Regions from separate parts of the Homo sapiens genome. Here all the other regions are linked to region 1. Evidence: promoter capture Hi-C in 16 types of primary human blood cells and fetal thymus (Javierre and others, 2016). All regions are on one chromosome and are shown on one strand. Each heading gives the region's core, a stretch centred on a gene start or on the middle of the fragment in contact. The rest is flanking DNA. Distances are from core to core; before and after follow the strand shown. Region 1 holds the start of CHDH (choline dehydrogenase). Region 2 overlaps DCP1A (decapping mRNA 1A). Region 3 holds the start of LOC107986087 (a long non-coding RNA gene).

The links. The method cuts DNA at HindIII sites, captures the fragments that hold promoters and counts their contacts. A CHiCAGO score of 5 or more calls a contact.
Region 2: a fragment that was not itself captured here is called in contact with the fragment with the promoter of CHDH in region 1 in 2 of 17 cell types (megakaryocytes and erythroblasts); the score reaches 5.1 in megakaryocytes.
Region 3: a fragment that was not itself captured here is called in contact with the fragment with the promoter of CHDH in region 1 in 1 of 17 cell types (M2 macrophages); the score reaches 5.0 in M2 macrophages.

What each region holds. Positions count from the first base shown.
Region 1 is chr3:53,844,969-53,847,668 of GRCh38, forward strand. It overlaps CHDH (choline dehydrogenase), which reads right to left and starts at 1,451. Exons shown (of 9, transcript NM_018397.5): 1 at 1,115-1,451. IL17RB (interleukin 17 receptor B) reads left to right here and starts at 1,600. Exons shown (of 11, transcript NM_018725.4): 1 at 1,600-1,680. The coding sequence starts at 1,621. RefSeq lists enhancers at 1-566, 567-1,407, 1,354-1,648 and a silencer at 999-1,648. The HindIII fragment of the contact is 5,797 bases long and covers 1-2,700 here.
Region 2 is chr3:53,313,075-53,315,774 of GRCh38, forward strand. The region is part of intron 4 of DCP1A (decapping mRNA 1A); the gene reads right to left. Among named protein-coding and RNA genes, the nearest start is that of SNORD38C, 19 kb to the right of the region's middle. The HindIII fragment of the contact is 1,586 bases long and covers 511-2,096 here.
Region 3 is chr3:53,269,766-53,272,465 of GRCh38, forward strand. LOC107986087 (a long non-coding RNA gene) reads left to right here and starts at 209. Exons shown (of 4, transcript XR_001740702.3): 1 at 209-415. RefSeq lists enhancers at 1-1,035, 1,653-2,538 and a cis regulatory region at 113-989. The HindIII fragment of the contact is 1,055 bases long and covers 824-1,878 here.

The sequences.
Region 1 (2,700 bases), core at 201-2,700:
CTCACTCCAGGAGTACCCATCAGCCAGCACCCATGTGTGGTTCACCTTTGCACCCAGCAGGTATTTGCTGAACAGGAAGATGACTATTAGAGCTGAAAATGTTCTCAAGGGCCACAGGGCCCAAAGCAACTCAGAGAGGTGGAATGAGGGGCTCAGGGTGGCCCAGTCCCAGGCAGGGGTGCGGCCACAACCTCAACTGAGTTCCTTGGTCAGGAAACAGAGCAATTCTCTGAAAATGCTACCTGCAACTCCACACGTATGCATGCCAGAGCCCAAACCCCTGGCTGATCCCCAGTCCATGCAAGCCTTAATCAAGCTGGCAGGTGGGCCAGGCCTGGCACACAAGTAGGGCCTCAGCTAAAACAGCTGCTTGACTTAGTACAGCCTCTCACCAGCTGACAACACACCCCTAAGTTCCATACCCCTCTCTAGGCCTCCGTCTTCTCATCTGTAGAATGGAGCTAATTCTGCCTACAAGTTTAAATGGCCCTGAGTTGGTCACCACAACCCTGTCGTTTGCAAACCGAGGGGGCTGAAGCAGCAGTTCCAGCCTCTGTGACTCCACTGTTAGCCCAGCTGATTTTTGTGAACTTTCCCCCAAACCCACTGTGTCTCAAAGGATGGTCCCTGGGCCACCCACCCACGAATTACGGGGGCGTGGGTGGAGGCTCGTTAAATGCAGATCCCGGGCCTGACCCGGACCTGCCGTCTGGATCTCATTTTAGGCGGCGCTAGAGATCCCGGGCCAGGGAAACTTGAGAACCGCAGCTCCAAATCGCCAGTGCTGACGGCTTCCGCTTTGGGAGCCCCAGGTGTTGCTGTCCGAACTCACTTGGTGGAAACAGACATTTACCAGAAAGCCTGGGGTCGGGCAGCGGGCACTCCTACCGCTCTAACCCCGCGTAGCTGAAAGAATTCGCTCCCTCAAAGGAGTCAGTGAGCTTCGGCAGTCTGCGTTCCACCCGTTTCGCTTCGCGCGGCGGGGCGATTGTGTAAAGCGGGCCCGGGTCTCGGCGTCCAGCCCGGCCCCAAACCTCCGGCCCCCAGGCCTCTCCGGGCTAGCGGCCGGGCGGCGCTGCTGCGGGGTGGTCGGGGCGCCTCCGCGGCTACTCACCCGGGGCGACTCGGCCGAGAGCCCGACAGTCGGGACCGGAGCGGGAGGAGCGGGTGGCCGCGGCCCGGCCCCTGCCCCGCGGCACTTTAACCGGCGGCGCCGGCGCCCCGCGCGCTCTCTGCGTCCGGAATGGGGACGCAGCAGTTCCGACCCGGTCGGCCCCGGAGCCGCGAGGCTAGCTGGGCTCCAGCGGAGGCGCGCGAAGCCCGAGGGCGGGTGCAGCTGATGCACCTGGCTCACTGCATGCACGTGTGCGCGGGGGTAGGCGCGCGCCGCGGCGGCCCGTGCTCCGCCAGCGCTCGGACACGGCCCATCCCTCCGAGCCCCAGCAGGCGAGGGCGCTGCGACCTGCCCCAGCCTGGGAGGGGGCCAGCGGGCCCGCCCTCTGTTCGGGTGGCGGGAATGGGTCGGCGCTGCGAGAGGCGGAGCCGAGAAGGGGCGGCCCGGCGGCGCCGGGATAAAAGCGCAGCGTGCGGGTGGCCTGGATCCCGCGCAGTGGCCCGGCGATGTCGCTCGTGCTGCTAAGCCTGGCCGCGCTGTGCAGGAGCGCCGTACCCCGAGAGCCGGTAAGCCCCCGCCAGCACCTCTTCCCTCATCTCCCGGCCCTCGAGCCCAGATCCTGACGTCGTCTGATCCGCCAGTCCAGGCTGCCCCGAAGGCGTGCGCGGACTGCCGGCTCAAGGGGCATGCCTGCACCCTCAGGGCAGCCCCGGACATCGGCGTCAGGTTGCTTGAGTCAGGGGCGTGGGAATCAGACAGACCCGGTCTCAGATGCCACCCTGTACTGTTGGTTCTGTCATTTATGCTCACCAAGTTCCAAGTCCCGAACGGTAAAACGAAGGGCAGTACCGAACCCACCAGGGTCTCTTAAGGTATAACGACATGGCCTGCAATTAGCGGCGAAGGGCCTGGCACGTAGTTATTGTTACTTGGGGTCTGCTCACCTGTTGGGGCACAAGAACTGTTTCTCCATTAGTACCCCCTCCCTTTTTGGCCATATTGATTGCCATGTTCACTCGTGAAGGCAGTTGCCTTTCTTCCCCAGTACCCTGAATGATCGAGGGAATCTTCTGGGTCACTGAAGAGAAAATAGCTCATCCCCCAAATAACCTTTGAAATGATACCGCTGCCCTCTTAGAATAGCATATAGCATCAAGCTCCGTAGTCACCTGCTGGTGGACAAACCCCATTCACTGTTTCCTGATGTCTTCAGCTCCTATCCTTCCCCTCTGTGTCAGTTCAGAAGCCCTCTTGGCTCTTTGCACTAAAGGGAAGAATTCATCCCTTTTGCTGTAGTTGCTGCAAGGCCAACAATTTGAGCTTGGTAGCATTTAGGGTTGTTGCTTGGCCTCTCACCGGCCGTTTGATAAGAACTCAGCTCCTGGTATGATGGCTCATTTGTTAAAAAAAAAAAAAAAAAGTCAAGTCTGGCCGGGCTCGGTGGCTCACGCCTGTAATCCCAGCACTTTGGGAGGCTGAGGCGGCCGGATTGCCTGAGGTCAGGAGTTTGGGAACAGCCTGGCTAACATGGTGAAACCCCGTCTCTACTAAAAATACAAAAAGTAGCCGGGCATGGTGGCAGGCGC
Region 2 (2,700 bases), core at 54-2,553, 530 kb before region 1:
TCCTCTGTGGAAAGTTTGGATTGACACTGGGCTAGCAAGGACAAAGTCAGTTCTTGAAAATAGAGGTCTTGGTGAATCCTTAAAAGTTAGTAACACTATAAGCAAATAAAAGGTTTCCCTTATTCTCCCTTTTAAAAACCACCAACTTAGCCTGGGCAACTTGGCAAAACCCCGTCTCTACAAAAAATACAAAAATTAGCTGGGCGTAGTGGTACACGCCTGTAGTCCCAGCTATTTGGAAGGCTGAGGTGGGAGGACTGCTTGAGTCTGGGAGGTAGAGGCTGCAGTGAACTGAGATCACACTACTGCACTCCAGCCTGGGTAACAGAGTGAGACCTTGACTCCAAAAAAAAAAAAAAATCACTAAGTGGGCTTTCAGTTTTTAAGAACACCCCCTTCTCCCTTGTAAAGAAAGATCTGAAACAATTACAGCAAAATATTAGGAACTGAAAGCTGGGTGGTAAGCACATACATATTTTATTATTTCCTATATTTTTCTTCAAGCTTTCAAGCTTGAATAATAAATTTTAATAAAGCAACTTTTTTTGTTTTTTTTAAGATTCATTCAGGCCAGGCACAGTGCTCATGCCTATAATCCTAGCACTTTGTGAGGCTGAGGCAGGACGATCACTTGAGCCCAGGAGTTTGAGACCAGCCCAGGCAACATAGTGAAACCCTGTTTTAAAAAACAAAAAACCCAGCCTGCACAGGAGCTCTCATTAGAGTGTGGGGAAGAGGTGAACAGAGATGGCTTTTTTATTTAAAAATACTGGGTTAAACAATATTAAACCGACTTAAAAAAAAAGAAAAAACAGAATCCTTGAGTTTTATTATTATTTTTGTAGAGATGGAGTTTGATATGTTGCCCTGGCTGGTCCCAAAACTCCTAGTCTCAAGTGATCCTCCTGCCTCAGCCTCCCAAAATACTGGGATTAAAGGCATGAATTACCACAACCCACCCATTGAATTTTTGTTTGTTTGTTTTATTTATTTTTTTATTGTACAGACAAGGTCTCACCATGTTGCCCAGGCTGGTCTCAAACTCCTGGCCTCAAGCAATCCTCCCACCTCAGCCTCCCAAAGTGCCGGGATTATAGACATGAGCCACCACAACTGGCCAGTTGATTTTTAAGCATGCTAAAATTTATTGTGATTCTCCAAGAAGGGCAGGCCTATAGATTTTCTCAAATTTTATTTGACTATAGAATTTTACTCTGAGGTAGAATTCCTGTTTGGAAAATGTGGCTTTAAGGTAACATGTAGTTTTTCTATCTAGATTCATAATTATAGCTCTTAATAAGACTATTACTTCTAAAACAAATGTAGCATCATGAGCTTCATGGTAGACTGAAAGACTGGTATGGGATATGAGAATAAGACCAAACATGAATTGTTTATTTAATGCTCAAATATAGGCCACATCAGCCTGAATCCATCTTCATAAAGGATCTGTCACACGGCCTGTTTTCCACCTACCTCCTGACATGTTGCCTGACTTGGCCATGCTGGTATTTAACTCTTCCCTGACCCAGACTAGGATCTGTGATTCTGTGATTATTTTGGTTTAAGAGAAGAATATTTCTTTTCTTTTTCTTTTTTTTTTTTTTTTTTTTTTGAGACAGAGCCTTACTCTGTCACCCGGGCTAGAGTGCAGTGGTGCGATCTCGGCTTACTGCAACCTTCGACTCCCGGGTTCAAGCGATTCTCGTGCCTCAGCCTCCCTAGTAGCTGGGATTACAGGTATGCACTATCATGCCCGGCTAATTTTTGTATTTTTAATAAAGACAGGGTTTCACCATGTTGACTAGGCTGGTCTTGAACTCCTGACCTCAAGTGATCTGACCACCTCAGCCTCCCAAAGTGCTGGGATTACAGGCGTGAGCCACTGCGCCCAGCCAGAACAGGTAATTTTATAAAGCTCACCACTGCTGAAAGCAGAAGCTGTCGGGGGTGGTAATGGAAGGGACTCTCACATAAACGAGGCTTGGACTCTAAGGCCTCTTCTAATCCAAACTTTATGGATAGCACTCATGCCATTCTCCTTTCCTTTCAAACACCAAAACCTACCCCTAAGATGTCTGTAAGATCAGGAATAAAGCTTACTTCCATGAGTTCTCCAAAGTTTACATAGTCTATGTGGCCAAACCGTCAAACAACTTTTTATTGTTAAAAAGAGTTTCTGAGGCCGGGTGTGGTGGCTCACGCCTGTAATCCCAGCACTTTGGGAGGCCAAGGTGGGTGGATCATGAGGTCAGGAGTTCAAGGTCAGCCAGGTCAAGATGGTGAAACCCTGTCTCTACTAAAAATACAAAAATTAGCTGGGTGCAGTGGCAGGCACTTGTAATCCCAGCTACTCGGGAGGCTGAGGCAGGAGAACTGCTTGAACCCAGGAGGGCGGAGGTTACAGTGAACCCAGATCACGCCACCACATTCCTGGGTGACAGAGCAAGACTCTGTCTCAAAAAAAAAAAAAAAAAAAAAAAGAGTTTCTGGCAGACTGGATTTCCTCTTTAGGAGAGTCAACAGCTTCTAAGTTTAGTGGGTTTTCAACTCTGCCACCACTGACCAGAGAATATACAAATTTAGATGACATAGGGTCTAGAAGCTCACTCATTTTCCTACATAGTTTCTCGTTTTTATAAACATTGTTTGGAGTAAATCAGTTTGTTGTTTTTTTTTTTTGTTTTTTTTTTTTTTGAG
Region 3 (2,700 bases), core at 101-2,600, 580 kb before region 1:
TAGACGGGTTTTTGTCATGTTGGCCAGGCTGATCTTGAACTCCTGACCTCAGGTGATCCGCCTGTCTGCATCAATATTTTAAATAAAGATGTTAATGCTCCACAGGTTGTGCGTCTTTCCCCACGTGAGTCCACATTCTTTTCTACCCTAGGATTACTACTGGCACAGAGGAAGTTGAACCACTGTCCCCCTTTGGTTGGATGTTTGCAATACTTCTGCTTTTATACTGCAACAAACAATACTTGTGCTTTCCCTCCATCTAGCACTGTGCCTCCAGGAGAGAGGGTTTTTTTCTGGTCGCCCCTGCAGACATGACCCTGCTTGTCCCTGGCCAATCCCAGGGCCAGACTGGATTGTTGGCCCTCTGACTCACCCTAGAAGGCCTGGGGCTGGAGAGGCCTGGAACTCCTCGGAGGTAAGTGCCAGTGTGAGGCCAGCCAAGCCCTGCCGGGCCTGCTTTCCTTGTGCATAAAGAAAACATGCCGAGTCATTGTGACTTGCACTTTTTGACTAGTGCGGTCAGGCTCTGTGTGGCACTGCCGTAGGCCTGGGTACCTCCTAGTGTGAGGAGCAGGAGCTGCTTTCCAGCAACGCCCTACAGCCCCTGTCAACTCCTGCCCAGGGGCGCTGGACAGGCTGGGCTGGGCAGGGGCGGTGCTGGTGACAGACAGGACACTCTTAGGGGCTCCTCCTGCACAGTCTGCAGGACGCAGTAGGGAGAGATCTTCATCCTTGTCCCCTTTTCTGGTACCTCTTGGGTTTCCCTGAGCAAGGCTGGGGTGGTGGAAGGAGCTATTTTGTTCCAGTGGGTATTAAATATTAAAGCTTTTGTTTTGTGTCGTGGGGAGGTTAAGTGGATTTTCTCCTGGGCTGGTTGTTGAACAGCTGAGAGTGAAACTGGCTTCTTAGAGTAGGACTAAAAAGCTCCAGAGAGTGGCTCACAGAGGGGTTGCTTAACCACTGTGAGCCACAGCTCCTCCTGGAAAACCTGAAACCATCAGGAGCACTTCCCTTGTAAGGTCACCTGAGAAAGTGAGTGAGGAGATATCTCACTTCCCAAACCAGGGTTCTTTGGCCCCCAGACACATGACTTTTACTCTCTCTCTTCCCATCCTTGCCTCCAGAATTAGCAAGGGCACCCAGTCAGCCATCCTGTTCTAGTGACTTGGACAAGGCATCAGAAAAGCATTTGTTAGGCCAGGTGCGGTGGCTCACGCCTGTAATTCCAGCACTTTGGGAGGCCGAGGTGTGCGGATCACAAGGTCAGGAGTTCGAGACCAGTCTGGCCAATATGGTGAAACCCCGTCTCTACTAAAAATACAAAAATTAGCTGGGCGTGGTAGTGGGTGCCTGTAGTTCCAGTTACTTGGGAGGCTGAGACAGGAGAATCGCTTGAACCTGGGAGGTGGAGGTTGCAGTGAGCCAAGATGGCGCCACTGCACTCCAGCCTGGGCAACAGAGCAAGACTCCATCACCAAAAAAAAAAAAAGCGTTTGTTCCATGCTACTGTGCAAAAAGAAAAGTGCTGCTGCTGGCTATCTGGTCAGGGCAGGGAAGTGGTTTTGCCATCACTGGTCCTCTGATTTCACTCAACACTTCATTTACCAGGGTCTATGTGTTGGGCACAGGTGCTGGATGCCCCAGCAGCACGTGTTTATACCGCACTGTCCAGTGATTTGTACAAACAATTGCCTGCTGAGGTTGTTGATCTGGGAAGGCGCCAAGGAGGGGGTGACAGCCAGTTTTGAAATAACAGAATTTTCTGCAACAAAACTGTGTCTGTGTCTAGCTGGCATGGGTGAAGAGGGGATTGAGGAAATACATTCATTTCAATATGTATTCTTTTTATGTTAATTTAATTTTATTTTTGTAGAGACAAGCTTTCACCATGTGGGCCAGGCTGGTCTCAAACTCATGACCTCAAGTGATCCGCCTGCCTCAGCCTCCCAAAGTGCTGGGATTACCGGCGTGAGCCACCGCGCCTGGCCGACTCTTTTTTTTTTTCGAGACCCAAGCTGGAGTGCAGTGGTGTGAACACAGATCACTGCAGCCTTGACCTCCTGGGCTTAAGTGATCCTCCCACCTCAGCCTCCCGAGTAGCTGGGACTATACGTGCATGCCACCACATCTGGCTTTGTGTGTGTGTGTGTGTGTGTGTGTGTGTGTGTGTGTGTGTGTATGTTTGGTAGAGATGGGTTTTGCCATGTTGCCCAGGCTGGTCTTAAACTCCTGAGCTCAAGTGATTCACCCACCTCTGCCTCCCAAAGTGCTGGGATTACAGGCGTGAGCCACTGTGGCTGGCTCCTCCACAGATGTTATGTGGGAGAGTAGCATGCTTTTCAGCGATGTATGGAGAGGTTTCAGAGGGAAGACCGGAGGTCCTCTATGGGGTATTTTGGGAATTTGTGTACCTGTGTACCTGTGCCCAAGCATTTCCATATTAAAACAGAGTCTTTCTATGCTGCCCATGCTAGACTTGAACTTTTGGGCTCAAGCAATCCTCCTGCCTCAGCCTCCTGAGTAGCTGGGACTACAGGTGTGCCCCATACATATTTAATATGAAACATTTCATTATTAACGTTTCTCCTTTATATTACAATTAGAGAATATTATTTTAAAATTGTGTGTACAAAAAATCATTTCAAAAATTCTTTTTTTTTTTTTTTTTTTTTTGAGACAGAGTCTTGTTCTGTCACCCAG